Linked DNA regions of Homo sapiens: regions 2, 3 and 4 are each linked to region 1. The links are contacts of gene promoters, found by promoter capture Hi-C in human tissues and cell types (Jung and others, 2019). All regions are on one chromosome and are shown on one strand. Each heading gives the region's core, a stretch centred on a gene start or on the middle of the fragment in contact. The rest is flanking DNA. Distances are from core to core; before and after follow the strand shown. Region 1 holds the start of LMO3 (LIM domain only 3). Region 2 has its middle 150 kb from the start of LMO3. Region 3 overlaps MGST1 (microsomal glutathione S-transferase 1). Region 4 has its middle 130 kb from the start of LMO3.

The links. Contacts are between HindIII fragments. The study calls those that stand out against the background at their distance.
Region 2: a fragment that was not itself captured here is called in contact with the fragment with the promoter of LMO3 in region 1 in 2 of the 25 tissues and cell types used here (H1 embryonic stem cells and aorta).
Region 3: a fragment that was not itself captured here is called in contact with the fragment with the promoter of LMO3 in region 1 in 1 of the 25 tissues and cell types used here (mesendoderm cells).
Region 4: a fragment that was not itself captured here is called in contact with the fragment with the promoter of LMO3 in region 1 in 1 of the 25 tissues and cell types used here (heart right ventricle).

Annotation. Positions count from the first base shown.
Region 1 is chr12:16,604,851-16,607,911 of GRCh38, reverse strand. It overlaps LMO3 (LIM domain only 3), which reads left to right and starts at 1,750. Exons shown (of 4, transcript NM_018640.5): 1 at 1,750-1,846. RefSeq lists an enhancer at 2,816-3,061. The HindIII fragment of the contact is 10,363 bases long and covers 1-2,005 here.
Region 2 is chr12:16,755,010-16,757,889 of GRCh38, reverse strand. No RefSeq gene overlaps it. Among named protein-coding and RNA genes, the nearest start is that of LMO3, 150 kb to the right of the region's middle. The HindIII fragment of the contact is 4,937 bases long and covers 1-2,880 here.
Region 3 is chr12:16,362,061-16,364,794 of GRCh38, reverse strand. MGST1 (microsomal glutathione S-transferase 1) reads right to left here. Exons shown (of 4, transcript NM_020300.5): 4 at 385-1,000. The coding sequence ends at 754. Among named protein-coding and RNA genes, the nearest start is that of MGST1, 16 kb to the right of the region's middle. The HindIII fragment of the contact is 4,798 bases long and covers 1-2,734 here.
Region 4 is chr12:16,737,123-16,740,030 of GRCh38, reverse strand. No RefSeq gene overlaps it. Among named protein-coding and RNA genes, the nearest start is that of LMO3, 130 kb to the right of the region's middle. The HindIII fragment of the contact is 6,874 bases long and covers 1-2,908 here.

The sequences.
Region 1 (3,061 bases), core at 501-3,000:
TTAAAGGGAGAGGAAAGCAAACCACAGGCTATTTTATTATGAGCCTTCAAAAGGGAGGGGGTAAAAACTAGTTATCAATGTTGTGCCTTTATTCTTTATGAAGAAAAACAAAATTTAGCTTAAATACTCATGGGGGGGGTGCTTTGATTTTTTTTTTAAAACTAGAGCTAGATTAAAACTGATGGTGAAGAGAAGAAAAAAAGTTTTTTGTAGTTCAACAATTGAATATTTCTTGGCTCTTAAACATTTCAGTGAGTGTCTTTCAAATGTGGACCATTTTTAAGCTTGACCTCTGACAAAGCTTTGTAAAATCTGGTGAGGGTACTTTAAGAGCAGCCCAAACAGAGGGTGACTTTGAAGTTTGAAAACTTAGAAAAATAATAAGGTATTTTAAAGCTACCAGTGGCCTTTATAGATGCCAAGGAAAGTTAAGAGGAGAGGAGGTTAGAGAGAATGGGACCTATTAGAAAAAAAAAAAAAATCTGTCAAGGCCTTAAAACAAGCCTGTGAAGACAAAGCAGTAATGGTGCAGAAACTATGGTTCTTTGACCAAGTTAGTCCTGAAAACATGTTTCTCAGTGCTGTTGGCTGTTTTTCATTGGAGCGTGTGAGTTTTAAATAGTAAGGAATTCAAGTAATTGCAGGAAGTGTGTTTCGGGGTGGTGGTGGTGGGGGTCAGCATTAGTGAATGGAGAACAAGTTCACAGTTTGGGTCTTGGGCCATTAGAGGAAGGGAGGAAGGGAGGAAGGAGAGTGTGTGTGTGATCCCCTGAACCAGGCTTGTGTGGCGGACTTGCGGAGCAGCGACTTCAGAGAGTTCATGAATGGAAGTCACAGACAGACCAGCGACTGCAGCCACCTCCAGGCATTTCTTAAAGGGGAGGGTTGTGTGCTTTTTCCAGGGTATTCTGGTAGCAGTTTGATTCTCTTGCTTTTATTTTAATTTCCATAATTGGTAGCTTCAGAAATGGCTTTGGAAGGCAATTTGCTTTAAATGTAGCCACCTATTCCAAAATGCCCTGGTTATTTTAGGAACCCTACCCTTTTCCTCCGGAGCTCTCTCGCAGGAGTTCTTCTTTTGGACTGGTCCAGGAGGTAGGGTCCTTCCTCAGTCGACTCCTGCAGAGGTCACATTTTGTGTGCGGGTTTGTCCCCAGCGTTTGTGAGTAGCATATGCATGTGGTTGTGCTGACTGCACTCGCAGGCTTGTAAATTTTCACCCTGGGAAATTAGCAACAAAGCCCGATCTGTCTCGTGGCTGCTTTGCACTTTCCGAGGGCGGCTGTACTTGACTGAGCTGCAGAACAGGCACACGAGAGCGAGCGAGGGAGCCAGCGAGAGAGGGAGGGAGAGAAGGAAAGAAGAGGGGAGGGGTGGGGGCGAGAGGTAAATAGTCTTAAATCGGAAGGGAGCTGCTTCTCTGTGGTCTTGACAAGCGCTGCCTGGGCTCCGCCGGCTCACTAATAACTGAGTGACCTTTTCTTTGGCTGTATTATGTCTGGCTGGGAAGGGATTGCATTTTGCAGCTGAGAGCCGGAGCTTCCTTCAGCTCGGCTCCTCGCACGCTGCTGGGGTAAGTTGTCTTGAACCAGGACGGAGAGAGACAGCCTCGGACTGCAGTTGCCTAAAAGGAGGACACCTGTGGCTCAGATGCGGTCAACACCATTGCTTGGCGTATCCTTGAGGACCTCATTATTTTAAACTTAAAAAAAAATAGACATTCCCTCCCCCGTCTTTTTTTTTTTTTTCAAACAATGCTTCTTTTTGACCTTTCCCAAGGAGAAGCGCTACAAAGCAGCCACTGTGCTTACTGAACGGCCTCCCCCTGTATCGCTTAATTGAGAAGGTAAGTGCAGCAACTGTGTACACACGCGTCGGCTTATTTGTGGTGTGTGTGTCTGCGGGTGCGCGCGTGCGTGTGCGGATGTGGGTATTTTTTTCTTCCCCAACCTCTGCTAATGAGGCATAAACTGGAGCTGCAACCCAGCTCCGCACTGCAACTTTCACTCGGGCTGCAGCTCTACTGAGACGGTTTTGTTTAAATCATGTGAGGCTTCATTATTTTTATGATGAGACATGAAATAGATGCAGGCGGAAGATGTTGATGGAAGGAGGGAGAGCGGCTGCGGCGCGGAACGTCTCAAGTACGACTCGAGTGGATAATAGTCAAAGTTCACCATGAACTGCAGTATTTCCACACCCCTGACTCCCGGGGAGAGAGGGGCAGGGAGAGTTTGGAATTAGGAAGTGTTTGCTCCCAGCCCATAGGAAAAGAATTCAGTCCTGGGTGGGTTTCCGGACCCCTCCCCCTTACTTGCTGGAATTCATGAACCCCCACTTCTTAAAGAGTTGATATTACAATCTTTTGGTCCTTGTTGACGCTTCTGCCTCTCTCCACGCAGCCATAATAACAAAATGTTGTTCCTTTGCCGTGGAAAAGTGGCTGTGTTTGGGCATGGGGGCGGGGGGGGGGGGCAGGCGGGTAGGGGCAGAAGTGGCTAGAAGAGGGAAGGTCCCTGGACCAAGGTGCCTATATCCTAATAGATTGAGATTCAAACTGATGCAGCACATTTTTTACGGGGACTACTCAGATTGCTGTTATGAAATACAAGTCAGATTTATGATCTTTTTCATATTGAACATGATATGCTATGCTAACGCTGCATGTGACAGTTTAATCAAATCCATTTGTTACCAGGAAGCTAAAAGGGGCCGCTGGGATTTTAGGATTACGGGCAGAGTTAGGGAAGCATGTGGCTTTGTCATTCGCCATCATTTTGCACACTGCGAGGGGCTCCGTGTGTGCGCCCTGTCTTGTCTGGCCGTCCTCATCCCTTCCCCCACCCCCTGCCGCCACTCCGACCCGCTCCCAAAGTGGCTTCACAATAGTCGGTCCTCGGCGGTGTAGGCTGCGCACCAGGTCCACACTTAAGCGAAATCAAGGAGACCCCCTTCTACTTCTACCTTTGGGTTTGGTGCTCAATGCGAAGCTGCTGCAACTCAGACACGCCTAAGTCAACTCATGCAGAAAAAGGAGAAAAGTTTTGGTAAGGTTACAGTC
Region 2 (2,880 bases), core at 359-2,858, 150 kb before region 1:
TCGAGCAGTCTGAAATCTTTGACCCTGCCTTGGCATGCAGTTGCAGGATAAAGTTAGCTTTCCTTCCCTTAAATGAACATGAGCAGACTTTTTCAATCCCTGCTCATTACGCCTAGAATCATTTTGAGCCAATTCATAGCCACTGCTTTGCTGTATATCACTGTAAATCATGGGTATAAAAAATAGTTTGGAGGGAAAAAAATTTAAACGGTAGCAAAATGTCAGTTTCAAGGGGTGTTAAAAGGAAATTTAATCAACTTTCAACACATTGAACACCACCTTGGCATTAGACATCATAGGTTTCCTTCTTACCTCCCAACTTCTGAGGCTTATTATTAAATACTTTCGCAGCAGCAAGATCACAAAAACATTAGACTGCTTGCTTACAGGTATATCCGACTTAGTAAACTTAAAGGGATGCTACCAGGGCTGGAAAAGCTGAAATTAGACCGATGGGCTTTACTGTATTCTGAAGCTGGGGCGTGCACAGTGCGCTATCTGATTCACTTTGCCTGCCAGCTTTGTTCTCTTGAGCCAGCAGGAGGGATTGACACTTAGGAGAATCTTTCTCTTTTAACCCGTGTGCTACTCCTGACAGCTAAGCTGGGTGAACAGAGCCTGGCAGACAGCTAGAACTCTGGGTTTGTGGTTTATGGGTAGCTGTTTAGAAATTGGCATTTTAACAATGCACTCCCTGACAATGTAATTAGGATAATTTTTTAAATTATACATAGGGCTGGCTACAGAATTTGTGGAAGCCAGTACAAAATGAAAATCCAGAGCCCCTACTAATAGCAAAGCATAAGCAAGTGAAAGACTTTCTAAACACCCAATCGTTTGTGCAGACTGTACACCCATGAAACTGGCTCTGGTTATACAATTGCTCTTTGATCAGTAAACACTTAATATATTTGCAGCAGAAAACGTATCAGTGTGGTTGTATTAATAGCTTAACAAATGAATATATGTAAAACATACAAAAATAACTTACTTTTAATGAACTCTTCCTTATGTGCAAACCTGGCCTAGGGCAAGAAATAAAGGGTCTAGGAAAATATAAACTTTTAAAAATAAATGTAAAATACCAGCTCATAAATGGGACAGTTTCAGTTTTACTAACAAATTTACATGTAAGTCTACCAACACGCTATTTCTGAATGGAAGGTTAATTCCTTTAGAATTAATGTTCTAAAATTTTAGAATGAATAATTTGTAAAAACCTTATAAAATTTTGATCTGAAAGTTTAAAAAAGAAAGTCAATCTTTTTCCAATTTGTAGGAGTTTTTAATGCTTTCCTAACCAAAGAAATCTAAGAACTAACAGATTTTTTAACAATATGGCAAATGGCAAATTTTATTTGTGTTCAAGGACCAAAACACTGGCTTTTGAGCATATTTGTAAATGATATTTAGTCTTTTAATGTTTGATAAGCTACACTTACCAAAAACAAACCACTCATTTATTTATTAATTCAGCATTCACTGATTATTTGTTATATGAAACACTGTGAACTTTTCTATAATCTTCATTTTTTGTAAAAGTATTATCTCTTCAATAATCAAAAATAATATTCCTCAGAAACTTCTTAAAGTCTCACGATGTGCAAGTTTTAAGGTCTCTGGGGAAAGCTGACATCAATAGAAAATATACATTTCTAATCAGCTTCTAATTATGATAATCATATATCCCATTTCAATTTAAATATACTTACTATTTTATGACTTTATAAGGAGTCGATATGGACTAAAATGTGGAAATTCTGATAGGAAGGAACTAAGCTCACTTTTAACATTATGGTAAAAAAATGTGTATTCTCTTCACTGAATTAAAGAAAACTTGACCACCAACTATTCATAGATATGAGGATAAAAAGCACAGAACCTGGTTAAATAAGAGCACTTTTTTTTTTTTTTTTTTTTTTCGAGACAGAGTCTTGCTCTATTGCCAGGCTGGAGTGCAGTGCCATGATCTCGGCTCACTGCAACCTCTGCCTCCCAGGTTGAAATGATTCTCCTGCCTTAGCCTCCCAAGTAGCTGGGATTACAGGTGTGCGACACCACGCCCAGCTAATTTTTGTAATTTAGTAGAGATGAGGTTTCACCATGTAGGCCAGGATGATCTCGATCTCTTGACCTTGTGATTTTCCCACCTTGGCCTCCCAAAGTGCAGGGATTACAGGCGTGAGCCACTGCACTGGGCTGAGAGCACATTTTTTATTGCAGAATAGACAAAGTCTGGTTGAGAAATTGATGGAGTTTAATGTGGGAAGTGCCCAGTAAAGATACTGATAGGATTCTGTCAAGACACAGATGAGGGACATTTAACTGATCCTTAGGCATTAGAAAAGAGATTACGGAGAATCCAATACTGACCTGAGTCTAGACCTAAGCTTTGAAGGATGAGTAGCCATTAGTCTAGCAGAAAACATGGAAAATGTATCCAGAGAGAGAGCAGAAGTTGTAAAGATGCAGATGTATACAAGGGCCTGCCACCAACCAGGGACTCCAGTGACAGGAGGCCTGTGAGGGTGTGGCAAAAGTTAAGACTCCAGAAATGGACAGAATGCAAAACATGAAGGGATTTTAGTCCCACTAAGCAGCTTGAACTTTATTTTAAAGTCTTGAGGGAGTCACTAATGGATTTATTTATTTCCTCATCATTATAAAACCAATATATGTTTATTTTTGAAAATTTGGAAATACAGCAAAGCAAATGCCAGTTCTAAATTTTAAATAAGGAATTGACCTATCAATATTTGCATTTTAGAATGAGTATACTCATTTAAAATTATGGGCATAGAGTGGAGTAAAACTGGAGTTAGAGAAACTAATTTTATGAAGTTTTTAGGATACACTCTAAGCTTCTATAAAAAGACCCTA
Region 3 (2,734 bases), core at 129-2,628, 240 kb after region 1:
CTGGATCAAAAATAAAGTAGTTATGAAGACTATTACTGGGGAAACATGAAAAAATTGGAATAAGGACTCTATATATGAAATATTAGTATATTAATACTAAGTGTCTTGGGTGTAATAATGGTATTGTAGTTATTTGGAGAATGTCTTGTTCATAGGAAAAACGTGCTGAAGTTTTAAAGAGTGACATGTCATGATATCTGCCACTTACTCTCAGATGTTTCAGAGAAAAAGAAAACAGAGAGAGAAGGAAAGCAAATATGCAAAATGTTAACAACTGGCGATTCTAAGCAGGGTACAGAGTGGTTCTTTGTACTATTTTTCAACTTTACCCTAGGTTTGAAACTTTTGAAAATAAAATGTTGGGAAAAATAAAACCAAACAAAATCATTCTTTAAATTCTTTATTTCATGTCTGTTTCAGCAGTATTGAAATATAGGTTTCTCATACGTGCAATTCTTTTATAGATTCAAAAGTGAGGTGTTGTGTGAATGTTACAAATCATAACATGATCCAAATTTATAAGAAAGTACTTTAAAAATCAGACAAAAGACTTAAGAATTACTATGTTAAATTTCTAATCCAAATGTAAAACAAGAATACAGGATATTGGCAATGCTAATATTCAAAATGGGTTTACCCCAGTTCATAATTCCTCTGCTCCCCTCCTACCTAAAATCTAAGAAAGTATTCATTATAAATTGGAAGTACAGAATTCTTAAAAAGCCAACTGGATGCTGAGTTGTATGATTTTCTTTACAGGTACAATTTACTTTTCAGCAACCTGTAAGCCATGGAAAGAGTAACTCCATATCCAACAAAAAAACTCAAAGCTCTATTTGGCTGGGGAAGGGGTGTCAAATATGCAATGGTGTGGTAGATCCGTGCTCCGACAAATAGTCTGAAGTGCAGGATGGCTGTAGAGGGGTCGGGACCACTCAAGGAATACAGGAGGCCAATTCCAAGAAATGGAATAATATTTTCAAGGTCATTCAGGTGGGCTCTGTGGAAAAAGATAACTATTAAAGACACTAATTTCAAAATACTAGATATGTATCCTTTTTTCTCTCTCTTCTAAAAACTAAATCTGAGCACTAATGGATCCTTAAATTTCAAAGTAAGATTTATTTTTTTTCTCTCAAATTGTCTTGCTTCCTTGCCCACTTGACTTTTATTTAGAATCTCTCATTATTTCTGTTTCTTTTTATTTTTAGTGTATCTTTAAATATCACAGAAGGCATTTTGTAGTTCCTAGAATATCAAAACGACATCTATCTAATAGAACTCATTTCATTTTTGTAAATAAAAATACTTTTTTCTTATGAGGTTCATAACAATTAGCAATTCAAGATTCTTTTTATAAAAATTCTTTCTCCCGAAGGAAGAAAACCCTTTTGGTGTTGATTTTTCTTAAGACACCTCCTTTGCTTCTGCTACTCTACCAAATGATTATTGACAGAATCCTTGCCAACCCAAACCACTAGGTTGCCAATAATTAATTTACCAATTTAATATCAAGACTCTCATGCTCTTATATCTAAATAACAGAATACATAACTAGCCTTTCAAATATAGTAAAATTTTTGCTAACCTATCTTCCAAATGCCAAATAAATTCGTTAGGAATGATGGTGCAAAACTACAAAGGACACACAAAAAGTAGGATAGGTGAAAGAGAGAAAGAGAGAATTTCCTAAATGTTTTCTTTATAACAGAGCTAGAAGAAAACAAAAAGCATGTTTTAGCCACAGTTTTGCTCCAAACCGTGGCATCTTGGGTTTCTCTGGCTAAGACCGAATACAAAACACATCTACTATGGACTTGACATTTTTATTATTATTGTTGTCATTGCTATTGTTGTTTTTAGAGAGGGGGTCTTGCTCTGTTGCTCAGGCTGAAGTGCAGTGGTACAATCATAGCTCACTGCAGCCTCAAACTCCTGAGTCTCAGCATCATGAGTAGCTGGGACTACAGGCCTCACCACCATGCCTGGCTAATTTTTTAAATTTTCTTTTTAGAGATGGGGTCTTGCTATGTTGCCCAGGCTGGTCTTGAACACCTGGTCTCAAGCAGTCCTCCAGCCTCAGCCTCCCAAAACACTGGGTTTATAGGTGCAAGCCATCATGCCCAGCAACATTTTTAAAAATACTTAATTTTAAAATGTCACCTCCCTTAAGTCTACAGAATTAGAAATTGCTTTAGAATCTAGGCTAGAAATGGAGAATTTGATAGTTTGTCAGCTATTGATATGTATTTCAAAATGAAAACTATTTCTGCTTTACGTTACTCTCTTCTATAGCAATAAGCATATAATTATTACATATTGCCTGCTCAACGATCGTCACTCTCCTCCTCTCCTTTCCTTTGTCTTGTCTTCCCTAGATTATCTCTAAGCTTGTCTCACAAAGAGGATGACTACATAGAGACATGAAGAGGACAGCAGCAGCCCAGCTAAGTAATGATTTGAAAAGGCTTCAATACAGAATAAAAGCAAAGAGAGGATGGTGTGAGTGTTCCTGTGCCCTCTCTTTCATGGAGCAATACAAGTACTACTGAGAATGAGATGGGAAAGAAAAGACAGGAATACCATTTTCTATTAAAGAAGGGCCCACTTTGTCAATGACACCTAGAGTATTTGTTTTGCCCCTGTGATTTCTCCCCCAGCATCACAGAGATATCGTCACCTCCAATCTTAGGCACGTTAGTGTTCTCCTTCACAACATGCCAAAAGGACAGAC
Region 4 (2,908 bases), core at 44-2,543, 130 kb before region 1:
CTGAAAAACAACTGGGACTCAATTTAGAATTTCCTGGCAGCGAGCAAGAAAAATGTCAAAATCACAGTTTTACTTTATTGAAAGCCCTCTTAGGAGTCCCGTGGAAAGAACTGTGTGTGCCTGGTAGCCAGAGAGCGGTGGGAGGTAATATTTAGTTTATTAATGTGTCTTTGATTTTTTTTCATAGTGTTGATGCCTAGTATTAAAAAGCAAGACCTTGATCCAATTTTCCCCTTGCCCTCCCTCTAATGGAAAAGAGCTATGAAAAACAGATAAAGTTAACAAGATGTTGCATAAAATCAAAGTGCATTTCAGCAATCCCAAGATATTCAATACATCCCATTTGCTTGTGCATTGGAATGGCTCAGTAAATTATGTTTCACTTGTAAATATTGAATTTTAATATCCAAGTGCCAACAGTACACAACCTTGGACATACGTTAGACAACATTCTTGTCCTCTGGAAGCTTAAGTTTTATAAAAACAAAACTAGTAATTCATTTTCTTGATGTTTTTCTTATTTTGCATTTTATTAACATGGCAAGAGCCACATATTTATTACTTGTGCATTGGATCTGATTTTCTTTATCCTTCATATTGAATTAAACTAGATTTTTGAGAGATCTGCATTAGGGTGAAGTGTGACTAAGAATTAAGAAAATTATATTGCTAAGTAATAGGTTAATTCTGATATTTTAGTGGCTAATAAACCATTGGTAATATTTTAGAAAATTGATGCAAAATAAAATTATAGTAAATTTCTTGATGTGTTTGATCCTTCATAAACTCAAGAAGCAGCTACCAAAATATCAGTGAAACATGCAAATCTTTTGTGGAAATACTAAGTGGATTATTAAAGATTAGTTGTGTTATTTGGGTGCTTTAGCAGAAATATTTTAGAGGGATAAAATGAAAGAGATTAAATGACCTGGAGATGTGTCTGACAACTAATTTTTATCTATTAAGACACTAACTACAGAGTCTTCAAAGTGCTATTACCCAAGTATGACACTAGTTCTAGAGAGTAGTCTTTGGGAAAACCACAGCCTAAATGATCTGACAACAAAATGCTCTTGATCTTCAGGTCATTGGCAATCATGGTGTTGAGATTTGTTGTGTTTTCATTACGTTTCATAAACTCGTATTTTAATTTTTTTGCTCCCTCAGTGATTAGAAAAACCACATTATATGAAGAAATACCATTTTTGTAATATTACTTTTAGGACCATTTTCTTCCCGGTCTGTCTCTTATGCTTAAATTCCAACCTTCATTCAACTCTATTTCCCACCTATATTTCCCCCGCATTTTAGAGAGGTTTTGTTCCCTGGCTTACATAATTTCAGGCTGTCATAATAAAAGTATGGATCTGTACTCAATGCACAAAATAGATGAGGGGATAGTCATACCCATCTTGCTAAATTCCCCATGCTTGTGTTTTTTACCTGAAATAATTTTGACGATGCCAACCATACTTAATAGAGACGATCATTGCTCACCATCCCACATCACTGCGGAAGAAGGACCTAGGGTCAAGGCTCTGCTGAAGGCAGGTGCCATATTTTGTATTATACTTGGTCAAAGTAATATAATAAGAATGGTAAGAGTAATAAGAATGGTAAGAGGTGGGGTAAGGTCATGGGAAGTTAAAATCTGTTTGCAAGTCTAAATTATAAGGAAATATTAACAATGACTAAATAGAGAAGCTGGCCTTCAGATAAAGTTTAAATTGAAATGAGAATCACTGAAAAAGAGAGAAAGACAGAGGGAGACCAAGGGACAGAGAGTGAATATGACATTGCAGACCCTACAAGAAGGATAGTTGTGTTCTTTCCTGTTGACTTTTGTCTTCCCATTCCAATATGTACGTTCTCTTATCAAATTGCTTTTTGCTTAAGGTTATTTGAGTTATTATTCTCTGCAATTAAGAAAAACTTAATAAAAACAACTGTGGACAATCAAAAAATGAATATTCAAATGTCAAGTTACAATGGAAGATCTTAGAGCCATAGAACCATGCATATCATCTTGTGCAACCTTAAATATAAAAATAGAGGTTTTAAAACCTTATAAATGTGCTTCAAATGACACGGTAAAGATTATATCACAAATGTATATAAGTGGTCTATACTTTATGAAACAGTTTAATGAATTTTACTGATATCTTTTAGGGTAGACACCAGTAGCTGCCCTTTTTACAGATGAGGAAATAGAGTTATTTGCCCAAAATTCCATGGATAATAAGTAGAAAAGGCAGAAATTTTTTTCCAACAAACTAAAACTCTATGTAAATAAATTAATGAGAGGCATGTTGACACTCATGAAAGAGAGTTGAAAGAGTCTGTTCTCGGTTGCTGTAGCATGTCATCCCTCCAAACCTAACCAAGTATATTATAAGTAGTTTCAGAAAAATAATGACACCACACATTTCTAGAAAATATCTCAATTTTTTACATCTATGCAAGTGATTTGTTCAAAATTCCTATAATAATTTGATTTGATGATAATGAAGAGAATGATGATGTTGATAATAATGGTGATGGTGGTGATGATAGTGATGCTGAATGCATAAATGCCTACAAGATATCTCAAAATGAGTGTTCCTTGGGCACCTCACTTGGCATTTCCAAAATAGAAATCATCTCGCAACCCAAATATTCACTCAGCCTATTACTCCAAGCTCACAATCTGAGTTATTCTTTCCTCTTCTGCTTAACTCATCCTTGACATGAAGAGTCACCAGTCTTTGAAACAACCTGTCTTCTAAATGTGTCTTAGACCAGCTACACATGTCCATGGCTGTGCCCTCTACCTGTGTTTAGACCATCAGCTTTTCTCTTTTGAATATCTGAGTAGGTCTTCTAACTAGACTCTTTGCATCCCGCCTCCCTTTCTTAAGAGGGAATGCTT